Regions from separate parts of the Homo sapiens genome. Here regions 2 and 3 are each linked to region 1. The links are contacts of gene promoters, found by promoter capture Hi-C in blood cells and fetal thymus (Javierre and others, 2016). All regions are on one chromosome and are shown on one strand. Each heading gives the region's core, a stretch centred on a gene start or on the middle of the fragment in contact. The rest is flanking DNA. Distances are from core to core; before and after follow the strand shown. Region 1 holds the start of ALDH1A3 (aldehyde dehydrogenase 1 family member A3). Region 2 overlaps SPATA41 (spermatogenesis associated 41). Region 3 has its middle 210 kb from the start of LYSMD4.

Region 1 (3,932 bases), core at 211-2,710:
TTAAGAATAATTTCCAGCGTTTAGTTTACAGCGACGTGTCTTTGTTGATTACAGAGCCTTCTGAAAACAGTTAATTTAAATGTCTTGTGATCAGAGGCTCAGCCGACATTGGGAATTAAGTGCCAAGAGACCCAAATCTGAAGGCCACACATAGTGCCCTGCAACTTTCTCCGCTTGATTAAAATTCTTTGAGAAAGATAATTGCTACTTCTTAAAGTAAAACGGATGAGGAAATTCTCTAAGTGCGGTGTCAGCTGGAGTTGGGGGCTATGGGTAAAAGCAAAAATCAAGAGAAGCCAAAGGTGGGGAAAGTTAAGGCAATGGCTCTCGGCCTGGCCTGTGCCTCTAAAGTGCCCCAGCACCGGCCCACGACAGACGCGCACGCCAGACAGCCTGGGGGTGTCCTCCATCGGGTCGCGCTCCCGGACCCGGGTCTCTCGGCCCTCCTCAGCCCCAGCTCAGAGGCCTCGGAGGCCTCACCATCTTCTTTTATTCCTTTCTGCCCCGGGCAGGTAATCTCGCCGTTCTGCCAACGCTGTAGCCTCCCAGCCCACAGAGCGAGGAGGCAGAGAACCGTGCGCTTCTGCGGCCTCGCGACCCACCGCTTCCCAAAGGCCCAGGTCTGCGACCTTCCGGAGCGCGCGCCTTGTGTGTAAACACCGGGACCTCTGGGCTCCGGGGAGGTTTCGTCAGTAAGCGAGCACCTTCCTACTCCTCCTCGTTCTGCTGCTGAGCCGGGTATAAACTAAGCACGGAAGGCGCCCGCTGCGCTTTGCTCGGAGGACCCGCTTCCCCAGTCTTCCAACTGCAGCTCCGCCATCTGCCTCCCGGACTCTCTCTTGGCGCTCTCGGACCCTCCGACCCTCTCAAAGCCAGACTCGTCCACCCTGGAAATCATCGCAGGGGTTTTTGGGGAGGGAGCTCCCCAAAACCAGCGCGCTCCGAGTCAACGCGGCGCGCACCTCCACTCGCGATCAAAGCGGGCAGCGCAGGGACACGTCGGGGCCTCGCAGGGATGCGGGCGGCCCGGCCCCGCGCGGGCGCTGGACGGCCTCGGTTTCCCGGCTTCGAGGCTCACAGCGCCGAGCCCCGCCGCCTGCGATCCCGCCCGAGACGTCCCGCGAAAGGTGCGGTTTCTGGAGAGCCGCGCCCGGGCAGGGAGGCTCGGGTCTCGGCGGCGCCCGGCGGACCCCCGGCCCGCTGCTCCCTCGCCCCCGCCGCCCCGAGTCTGGCTGCCCAGCGCAGGGGCCCGCGGCCGTCGGGTGGGAGGGGCGCCCGCCTCACCTTGGTGAACTTGACCTCCAGGTTGCGGATGGGGCGCGGCAGGGCCGGCGGCTTCCTGTCCGGCTGCCCGTTTTCCACGGCCCCGTTAGCGGTGGCCATGGCTCCTCCGCGCTCCCTGGCCCGAGGCGCCCTAGTCTGCGGCGCACCGGCTCGGCCCGGACACTGCGCAGCCCGCTCCCGGGGTGGCAGCTCCCCGCCGCTTTATGCAGCGCCCCACGCCTCCCGCCCGAGGGGGCCGCCTAATTGGCTGCGGGACCGGAGGAAGGGAGGGCGGGCTGCGGGAGGGAGGAGAGGGGAGGGCGGCCGGCCCGCCTCACCCCGCCCCGCCCGCCGCCCCTGCGGGAGCCCGAGCGCCGGCGGCTCCACCCGCGTGCCGCGGACCGTCCCGGCGCCCGCGCCGCGCGCTCTCTCGCCCCGGAGGCTGCCTGTGGACGAGCTCCCCGAGGAGCCGCCGGGCCCCGGAAGTCGCAGGGCTGGGACACCCGACCCGGCAGGGAGCTGAGCCGCGGGGCCACGGCGCCCCGCTGCCTCCCCGAAGTCGGGCGGGCTCCCCGCGCGGCACATGCAGCCCACTCCCAGCCGCCGCACGGCGCGCTCGCCCGACTTCGGCCGGCTCGCGGCGCTCGGGAATGCGCGCTCTCCGCCGGGCCCTGCGCCGCGCCCGGGTCGGGGCTCCTGGCGGGGCCGCCCCGCGTCGCTGCGCACGTGCCCTGCTCTTGGGTCCAGCCGCCCGATCCCCGCTAGCAGGACAGACGCCCGCTGCGCCCCACCCTGCCCGAGCGCGGACAGCCGGCGGGCGCACCCCGGCCCAGCCGGCCTGGAGTCTCCCCGGGGCCCTGGGGCTTCGCCCGCGGTGGGGCAGAAGGCGAAAGCAAAGCGCCGGACCCGGGCGGCTCTCCGCCGAGGAGCCCTGGCGCCGCTGGGCCTCTGACCTTCGCAGGCGCACACCGCCTTCCATCCCAGAGCCCGGGGGGCAATTGATCTGATTTTTTAAATGCATAAATTATACCTCGATTAAAAAATGATAATTAAAAAAAAGCACATGAGACCTTTGCTGCTAATCGTTTTAAGAGTTTAAATTCTTGTCGCGCATTACTTCCCAGGAGGGGGAGGTAAGTCTAGCTCCTCTCCTTTTGCGATTTGGGAAACGCTCCATCAACTCCCAGGACTTGACCCAGGCCCCATCTGAGACACGGAAGCGGCTTCTGATGCATGCCATTCCTCAGGTCGCTGGAACAAAGACCGGAGGCACGGACTCCTGACAAAAGCTGTGCTTTAATCCTCAGATAGGCTCAGCCCCTTCAGTTCATCTCTTTCTGTAGGTAACCCCAAGTAATCAACAATGGGGAGGGGTCTCCTTATTTTCCTGTTTTGAGGCCTCCGTGTCCATCTCTCTGTCCCCTGGTGTCCTTCTGGATAGAGCTGGATAGAGGGGTAAGTTTTGAAGCTTTTGGAAACCCCACATCTGACCCTTACCCTGGGGTTGTGGAAAGGTCTTGTGCTGTTATGGCCTGGAGTGCACAGCTGAGGCCGGGGAAAGGGGATAATGGACCCTCGAGCGGGGCAGCCTTGACCGATATCGGCTGGCTAACACTGGCGAGTCTGAGCAATGCCAGCTCTTTCCTCAGCTGCTTCTGCAAATCCGGGGCTCCCTGCCCTCTTGGCTGGCCCCATGGCTCCCACTCAGATCTCCTGAAAACATCTGGGCAGATGTGCTATGCCACGGCCCCCGGCTGGGTGCTGAGCCCTAGCGTTTGGGTGCCTGAGCCCAAGAGGACCGTCAGGGAGTAGTGACAAACCCCTCCTGCATGGATGGAGGCCAGGGGCCCAAGGCCAGTGTGTGCAGCAGGCCCCAGGAAGCTGCAACTAGAGATGCTTTACAAACTGAACTCCCATCCTGAGACTTTATCGGGGGTCCTTGATGGTTGAAATTATGTCACTGCCAGGATTTTAAAAAAAAATCTGAAATAAAATTTATAGAGGAAACTGTGTTAATTAAATAATTGCTGGATTGATGGGGGAGGCAAATGGGGTTGAGCTTAGAACTCTGCTCCTTTAGGGAAGATAGTCGAGCCTGTTTGGTCAAAGATAGACAGTCACCACTTTGTTGGCTATGAAGTCAGGAATGAAAGCCACCTCACCTCACACTCAGACATCCTTGTGACCCGAGGCGTCTGGTCTCAGGAGCCAGTTGCAAAGATGCCGACTGGCTCACCTGCAGCTCCTCCGTTTGATACCCACGTGATCCTGGGAGCCTGAGATCAGACTGGAGCACTCAGCCATAGACTTTGTCACAGTAGGTGGCTCCCAGAGAGCAGGTCAGGAGGATGGGCCTAGCTCTGGGCTTGTCCAGACAAGCAGGCTCTACCTCTGCTCCCATCGGCAGGAGGGGTGGAGGCAAATGCGCTTCTCCCCATTTTACGGGTGAGTAAACAGAGGCGTGCAGACACTTGCCCCAGACATCACCATCGGTCGAGAAACTAAGGCCAGACTGTGTGAGAGTGGGTGGTGCAGTGCAGGGAGGAGGGGCTTCTCTGACATTCCTCTGACCTATTCTTTCAAGCAGGTGAGCACCTATGACCCAGGGTGGTCCCATGTCACTGGGGCTGCATAGGGCATAGTGAAGACACGAAGGGCTTTGAAGGTCA
Region 2 (4,199 bases), core at 1,626-4,125, 530 kb after region 1:
GATGCCTCGGGGCAAAGGCCTTCTTCCACCTATAGACAGAGTCTACGCAGGGGTCTTGGAACCCGGGCACACCAGTCCCCAGCTAACGAAATCCCCGAGTTGGGGGATTTGAGAGGGTCACGTTTGGCCCAAGAACCCGCAGTCCTCTTTGGTCTTCGGCCCTCTATTTCTAAGCGTGGGCTTCTGGCACGGCGGCTCTGGGCACAGCCCATGCTGCTTTCGGGCTGGGTGGTTTCAACGACGACAACAATTATCACAGTGACGGTGACCTTCACCCCAACAGGACTGCTGTGTGTGAAGCACTCAAGAGGGCCCCTACAACCAACCTGCCAGGAGTCGGCTCCTGAAAACAGGGTCGGAAAAGGTCAGTGCCCATCAGAATCGAGCTGTCGGCAAAAAGCTGGAGAGGTTAGGAGCTTTGTCTATCTCAAGGGTAACAAACTGCTTTGACCCTGAGGGCTCTGAAGACGACTTTCCCTCACCGCAGCTCTCAAGACAACAGGGATCAGACTCAGAAAGACACTGCCTGTATAAGGCTCTTGTTTGTCTTGTTTTTAATTCCTGCCCTCTGCCTCCAGATCTCAGTCCTCTATCTGTGAAACGGAATTCGGCCTTGCCTGTCCACGAAATGAAGACAAGGCATCTCGTGTGTGTTAAGATGAAACAAGATCTTAGCAAGAGAGTAATGATTTCTTTTTTAAAACATTTTTTACTGTAGTAAAATGTACTATAACGTAAAATTACCATTTCAATCATTTGTAAGTTCAGTGGCATTAAGTACATTCACATTGTCGGGCAGCTGTCAGAGGTGTTCGAACCAGAGCGACTCCATCTTGAACAGGTGCTGCGCAAAATGAGGCTGAGACCTGCTGGGCTGCATTCCCAGGAGGTTAGGCATTCTTCGTCACAGGATGAGTCAGTGGCTGCCAGGGAGGCAGGTTGGTTACCCCAGGAACCAATGAATTGCATCTCAGGGGAGGTTTTGCCAGATACAGGTCACAAAGACCCTGCTGATAAAACAAGATGCGGTAAAGAAGCTGGCCAAAACCTACCAAAACCAGATGGTGACAAAAGCAACCTCTGCTCGTCCTCACTGCTCATTATACACTAATTATAATGTATTAGCATGGCAAAAGACACTCCCGCTAGTGCCATGGCAGCTTACAAATGCCATGACAACATCTACTTAGTTAAATTTGCATACTATGAATATGAGTATGCAAATACCTGTTGGAGTCCCCGCTTTCAAAGCTTTGGGGTACACATCCAGAAACGGAATTGCTGGATCATAGGGTAAATCTATTTTGGAGGAATAGTCGTACTGTTTTCCACAGTGACTGTACCATTTTACATTCCCACAAAATTATTTCTTTCTATCTGCCTTCCCCCACTAGATAGAACACAGGGAAGTTACTTTTTCGTTTCTAAATCCCCAGCACCAGGAACAGTGTCTAGTTCATAACAGAGCTCTATAGAGAACTGTGGGGAAAGAAGTGCAATTTATATGCTGCTGCCTCTTCATTTGGCATCTCAGTACGTGGCACACAGAAAGTAGGCACTGAAGAAGGGTTGAAGGACCTAATGAGTACATAAATGAATGCAGTTACCATTGCTTTTTCCTTGGTCTAGACTGAGGACAGACATTTTTGTAAATTAAGCTACTTAGTTAAATGTAGACCTCTGGCCAGTTTTGCTCATCCAGAAGTTTCACTTTAATGCCACTTCAAAGATACTGTTTTCTGTAAATCAGATCATAATTGTGATGAGAATGATGTGGGGATGTGTCCTGGACTCTCCCCATCCCCCACCTCACAGCCTAATGTATAACGCACATTTTATTCAGGACCATTTTGGATGTGTAGGATCTGCTCCAGAACACAGGATAATGGGCCTCTTTTCTGGGGATGGTGTGGTTCCATCATTAGATAGCAGGTGTGTCATCTGCAGGTACTGGTCTCACTATTCAACCACTGGTTGAAAGATTGGTTCAAGATCAACTCTTTGAAAAATCAAAGTATTACTTTTACAAATGCTTTTTTGATATTTCTCAACCAATTAACCTTGAAAAGTTCACCATGAAGTTGAATTGCCTAAACTTATACATTGTATGGGCACTGAGATGCAATTTTTAGGGCTGTGTGGGCATCAGCGATGCCTGTTTTCAATACATTGTAGCTATGCTCAGTGTCATGGGCCTTGTAGGGCTGACCTCTTTTTGTCCAAGCATTGAAGCCAATCTAAAACTCTTTTCCAAAAAGAAAATGTTTTCTTTGCTAATAAGTCACCATCAACTGCAGCAGAGGCAGCTGTTTGGGCTTCACAATTTGCGGAAGCACATGCCAGCCTGGCTCTGTTTTGTGCTTGTTCACAGTATATGGCTTTGGCCTTGTTCAGCATCAGGGAGTAGCTGTTCCTTGGGTCATGCATGGAGTTGGATTTAACCCTGGCTTTCAGCTGGCCAGTCCTCATCAGGAGCTTGGGCAGGAGAAATAGTACTCTGGTGAATGGTCTGAAGACATTAGATCATAGATGACCTTGGCTGCAAGCAACTAAATCCAGACCACAACAGTTTATCCAAATAGGGTTAACCAAACAAGTACAATGTGTACCCAAATGATATCAGTGTCCCATGATCCTTCCATCATCCACTGGATGATTTCTTAATTCAAAGTCAAACAAAAACAAAAGCAGATTTGAAACATTCTCATCCATCCTTGAAACTGGATCACATGCCATGGTCTCGCTCTTTGAAGTGGTCAACTGAACAGCTGGATACATGGTCTGGAGCTGGGAGGAGGAGTGCCTTAGTCCATTCCTGCTGCTATGACAAAATAGCTTAGACTTGGTAATTTATAAATAATAGACATTTATTTCTCATTGTTCTGGTGGCTGGGAAGTCCAAGGTCAAGGTGCCGGCAGATTCAGTGTCTGGTAAGCTCTCTGTGTCCAGGATGACACCTTGTTGCTGCATCTTCTGAAGAGGACAAATGCTGTGTCCTCATATGGCAGAAGAGATGCAGGGCAAAAGGGCCAAGAAGCCCTCTTGAGCCTCTTTAATGAGGGCATTAATTCCATTCATGAGGGCAGAGCCCTCATGACTTTGGGCCTTAACCCAAAAGGCTCCACCTCTTAATACCAGCACAATGAGGTAAGTTTCACCATGAATTTTGGAGGGACATAAACATTCAAACCGCGGCAAAGAGTCTGGACCAGGGGATGACTCTGTGAAGTGCGTGCTTGTCCACTGCCAAAAGAAAGGGATAAGATGAGGAATGCGAAGCTGAGAAGGGGAGGGTTCGAGATCAGCACTGCATTGAGAGAAAGGGGAGTTGGGCAGAGGAGTGTAGTAGCAATGGTGGGCATGGCGATGGCTCAAATGAAGAAGGTGATTGCAGATTTCCCTGTTGCATGCTTGGCTCCAGTGGTGTTCAGAGCTCAACCACATGCTCAGTGAGAGTAGAGAGTTGAGTTTACCCAGGCCTGTAGTTCTGCATGACAACTGCAGTGAAAAGGGATAGGGGAGGGTGCTGAGCATATTGGCAAGAGTGTTTTCAGAGTCATGGGGCCTGGAATGCAAGCTGGATATGGAGGCAAGTGAAGAGAGGCTGGTGGGTTGGGAGATGCAGACTGAGAGACCTTCTGAGGTAGGAGCATTTGGACGAGCATGCTGGGAGGACAAGAAGCTGTGGTCAGAGGTGGATGTTCAAGTTTTGGAAGGTGGAACAGCTAGGGGTGATGACAAGGTGTAGGGTGTGAATTTGAGAGTGGACAGTTGGGGCAGCATAGCACAGAAGGTCACTGAAGGAGGAAATTGAGGAGCCCAGAGCCCAGGGTGGGGGATGGGAGTTGTCTATATGTGTGTCTGTTAGGGGTCGAGTTTGGCTGCATATAACAGACAACCCAAATAGCAACAGCTTAAAAGAGACAAGAGTATATTTTTTTTCTGATATAGCAAAAAGTGCAGAAGTAGACAGCTCAGGTCTGGCATGGTGACTCCAAGATGTCATCAGCAACCCAGAGTTCATTGATCTTTTTGCTTCCCAGGGGTCTGGCACTCTTCCTCATGCTTACGAGATGGCTGCTGGAATTCCAGGAATCACATGCAAATTCTAGTCAGGAGCAAAGAGGAAGAGACACAGTGAAAAGGGGTATACAGCGGCAGAAGGAAGCTCCTCAAATGAACTCTGCTAGAACTCTAG
Region 3 (3,985 bases), core at 974-3,473, 940 kb after region 1:
GGAGTGAGTGATCACAGCACCCTCAGCACCTTTCCATCCCTGAGGCCTTGACACCACTGGGCCATCCCTGCCTGGTGGTCTGCCATCCCTGAGAAGAGCTGCTGCTACACCCTACCCCATGCGGCCATGCTACTGTAGAACTACTTCATCTACCACTCCCAGTTGCTACTGTGCCCTGCCCCTCCAGGCCTGAGCTGAAGTGGCACACTGCATCCTGGGGAAATGCTACATTGGCTGTCTAGAGCATCCATACTCTCCAGGCCAGAACTGAAGTGGCACCCTGCATTCCAGCAAATGGTGCCCTGACTGCCCAGAGCAGCCACACTCCCCAGGCCTCAGCTGAAATGGTGCATCACCTCCGGTGTAATTAATGCCTTGGCCAAGCTAAGCAGTGGCACATCCCAGGGATGAACTGACATGGTCCCCTGTGTCCCAGGGAAATAGGGCAGTGGCTAAGCTGCGACACCCCATCCTACTGGGCAAATAACTGTAGTACCTTGCTTCTCTGGAACTGGACTCACCCCTAGAGTCTGAGCTGCTGAGACATTTCACTCACAAGGAATAGTGCCATTGTCGTACTTCTCCCTGCCTCCCCCTCCCCAACTGGCGCTGTGGACCCAAGTGAAAGCTGAACTCTGCTAATCTGAGATCCTTGTTGCAGCCTCACCTTGCCTTACCGAGCCTCCCATTTCCCACCATCCCAGGGTCCAGAGTCATGACTACATGGTGTTTCATCCCCCCTACGCCTGAGTTGCCATTGTACCCTATTGGCTCTGGTTCCTGAATTGCAGCTGTACCCCTGATGCCCAGGCTCACACCTCCAGAGCTCCCCTTCTTCTATGAAGCTAGGCCAGTGCTATTCCCTAACCCCTAGAGTCGGAGTCACAGCTACAACCCGGCCGCCTGGGTTCAAGCTGCTGGGAGTTGCCTCAGATTATAGACTCTGGCTCTGTGGGCAGTCTGCATGCAACCCTTCCTTCAGAGATTGAACCTGTACCCCAAGACCCAGGTGCCACAGTTCGTTCTCAAGACCCTGAGTCCAGGGCCCAAGCTCCACATTTGCTCTTGTCACCTGTGACCTGGAACCCCACGCTGCTGCAGCTGCTCGTGGGCTGTGTCAGAACATCAAAAGGGGTCCTCTCAGCTAGTCTTCTCATTGTGGGGAAAAGAAAAACAGGAGGACCCCAAAAGCTGTTGCCACCTGGGATCCTAACAACCTACACTGCCACTGCTGCTGCCACATATTGCTATAGCCTAGGCTACTGAGGCACCCAGTCATTGCTGATGTTGATCGTAGCTGAAGCAGCTGCATGGAGGTTATACTACTGTGTCTACTCAGATGCAGAGTAGAACCACCATATTCTTCCCAACTGGTATACTAAGACTTTCCCTGCAAAAACCACTCTGTAAAGTTTGGAAAAGGTAATCATTCCATCAGATGTGCAGACATCAATGCAGGAACACAAGAAACATGAAAAAGCCAGAAAAGGCCAGACATGGTGGCTCATGCCTGTAATCCCAACAAACACATTGAGAGGCTGAGGCAGGAGGATTACTTGAGCCCAGGAGTTTGAATATGTTCCCCATAACTTCCTATGTTACCCACTCTGGGTAACATAGGAAGACCCTATCTCTACAAAAAAAATGTAAAATAAAAAAATTACTCAGGCATGGTGGCACATGCCTGAGATCACAGCCACTCAGAAAGCTGAGGTGGGAGGATTGCTTGAGCCTGAGAGGTTAAGGCTGCAGTGAGCCATGATCATGCACTGCACTCTAGCCTGGGTGACAATGGGACACTGCCCCACTCCCCTCCTCCCCCAAAAAAAGGAAGAAGAAAAAGCCAGGAAACATGATACCACCAAAGGAACATAATAATTCTCAGGCAACTGACCTTCCCCCCTCCCCAGAAAGGGAAGTTTACAAATTGCCTAAAAAGGAATTCAAAATAGTGACCTTAAGAAAACTCAGATATAAGAGAATACAGATAGACAATTCAATGAAATTAGGAAAACAGTTCATTATCTGAATGAGAAATTCAACAAAAGAGATATCATAAAAATTTAATCAAACCTTGGAGCTAAAAAATTTAGTTAACAAAATAAAACATACAATAGAAAGCTTAAACAGCAAACTAGATCAAGGAGAAGAACGAATCTTTGAACTTGAAGATGAGTCTTTTAAAATTAGTCAGAGGAGGGAAAACAAAGAATGAAAAAGAGTGAAGACAGCTTATAGGACCTGTGGGATGCCATTAAAAGAACAAATATTTGCATTATGAAAGTTCCAGAAGGAGAAGAGACAAAGATAGAGAAAGAAAGCTTATATAATAAATTGCTGAAAACTTCATAAGCCTTGGAAGATACATGGATATTCAGATACACAAAGCTCAACTTTTCCCAAATAGATTCAACCCAAAGAAGTCCACTCTAAGACACATTATAATTAAACTATCAAAAGTCAATGACAACATTTTAAAAGCAGTAGCAGAAAAATGTCAAGTCACATAAGGGAATGCCAATTAGACCATCAGTGCATTTCTCAGCACACACCTTGTAGGGCAGGAGAGAATGGAATGACATATTCGAAGTGCTGAAAAGAAACTGCTAACTATACTGCTATACTCAGCAAAGCTGTCCTTCAGAAATAAATGAGAAATAATCTTTCCCAGACAAACAAAAGTTGAAGGAATTTATTACCACTAGACCTTCCTTACAAGAGATGTCTAAGGGAGTTCTTTAAGTGGAAATAAAAGGACACTAATAACTAACATGGAAACATATGAAAGTATAAAATTCACTGGTAAAGGTAAATATATAGTCAACTCTAGAATATTCTAATATTGTTATATATAGTTCTATAAAGTATATATAGATACAGATAGTATAAAGGTTAAAGACCAAAATAGTCAAAGAAAAAAAAGCTATATTAAGAGATACATAATATAAAATGATGTAAACTGCAACATCAGAAATATAAATGAGGGAGGGTAAAAGTCTAATGTTTTTGTATGTGACTGAAATTAAGGTGTTTTCAGTATGAAATAGTCTATAGTTTTACGTAAGCCTTATGGTAACCACAAAGAAAAAAAAAGTATAGCAGATACACAAAGTAAAGAGAAAGAAATAATAATAGTGCTACAGAAACTCATCAAATCAAAGATGAACAAGAGAGAAAGGAACAAAGGATCTACAAAACAACCAGAAAACAAAAAAGTGGCAGTAGTAAGTCCTTACCCATCAATAATTACTTTGAATGTAGTAAGTGGATTAAATTCTTTAATCAAAAGACAGAGTGGCTAAATGGATTTTTTTTTAATAATAAGGTTAAGGATATGCTGCCTACAAGAGACCCACACTAGCCTTAGGGACAAACTGACTGAAAATGAAGGGTTAAAAGATATTTCATGCAAATGATAACCAAAAGAAAGCAGTGCAGCTATAATCACAGCAGATAAAATAGACTTCAAGTCAAGAACTGCCACAAGAAAAATGCACCTACTAAAAATGCAAAAATTAGCAGGGTGTGGTGCTGCACATCTGCAATCCCAGCTACTCAGAAGGCTGAGGCAGGAGAATCACTTGAACCCAGGAGGCAGAGGTTGCAGTGAGCCAAGATCACGCCACTACACTCCAGCCTGGGTGACAGAGTGAGAGAATTCATTAAAAAAAAAAAAGAGAGAGAAGAAAGATTCCAACTAAACACTAAACATTTAGCCTAATATTATGCCCCAAGGAACTAGAGAAAGAACAGATTAAACCCAAAGTTAGCAGAAGGCAGGAAATAATAATCTGAGCAGAAATAAGCCAAATAGAGAACAGAAAAACCATAGGGAAAAATTCAATAATAAGAGTAGGCTGGGCACAGTGGCTCATGCCCATAATCCCAGCACTCTGGGAGACCTAGGAGGGTGGATCACTTGAGGTCAGGAGTTCGAGATCAGTCTGGCCAACGTGGTGAAACCCCGTCTCTACTACAAGTACAA

The links. Contacts are between HindIII fragments. The CHiCAGO score rates a contact against its expected background, and 5 or more counts as called.
Region 2: a fragment that was not itself captured here is called in contact with the fragment with the promoter of ALDH1A3 in region 1 in 4 of 17 cell types (total CD4 T cells, naive CD8 T cells, M0 macrophages and 1 more); the score reaches 7.2 in total CD4 T cells.
Region 3: a contact is called between a fragment that was not itself captured here and the fragment with the promoter of ALDH1A3 in region 1, in 4 of 17 cell types (naive CD4 T cells, total CD8 T cells, total B cells and 1 more). The highest score is 6.7, in naive CD4 T cells.

What each region holds. Positions count from the first base shown.
Region 1 is chr15:100,877,359-100,881,290 of GRCh38, reverse strand. It overlaps ALDH1A3 (aldehyde dehydrogenase 1 family member A3), which reads right to left and starts at 1,460. Exons shown (of 13, transcript NM_000693.4): 1 at 1,285-1,460. The coding sequence starts at 1,383. It overlaps LOC124903575 (collagen alpha-1(I) chain-like), which reads left to right and starts at 1,488. Exons shown (of 1, transcript XM_047433433.1): 1 at 1,488-2,345. The coding sequence starts at 1,488. The coding sequence ends at 2,270. RefSeq lists an enhancer at 414-928 and a silencer at 1,420-1,539. The HindIII fragment of the contact is 4,913 bases long and covers 1-2,733 here.
Region 2 is chr15:100,345,473-100,349,671 of GRCh38, reverse strand. It overlaps SPATA41 (spermatogenesis associated 41), which reads left to right. Exons shown (of 2, transcript NR_028139.1): 1 at 1-938; 2 at 4,045-4,199. It overlaps LOC105371021 (a long non-coding RNA gene), which reads right to left and starts at 66. Exons shown (of 3, transcript XR_007064777.1): 1 at 1-66. The HindIII fragment of the contact is 3,244 bases long and covers 1,254-4,199 here.
Region 3 is chr15:99,940,400-99,944,384 of GRCh38, reverse strand. No RefSeq gene overlaps it. Among named protein-coding and RNA genes, the nearest start is that of LYSMD4, 210 kb to the right of the region's middle. The HindIII fragment of the contact is 200 bases long and covers 2,124-2,323 here.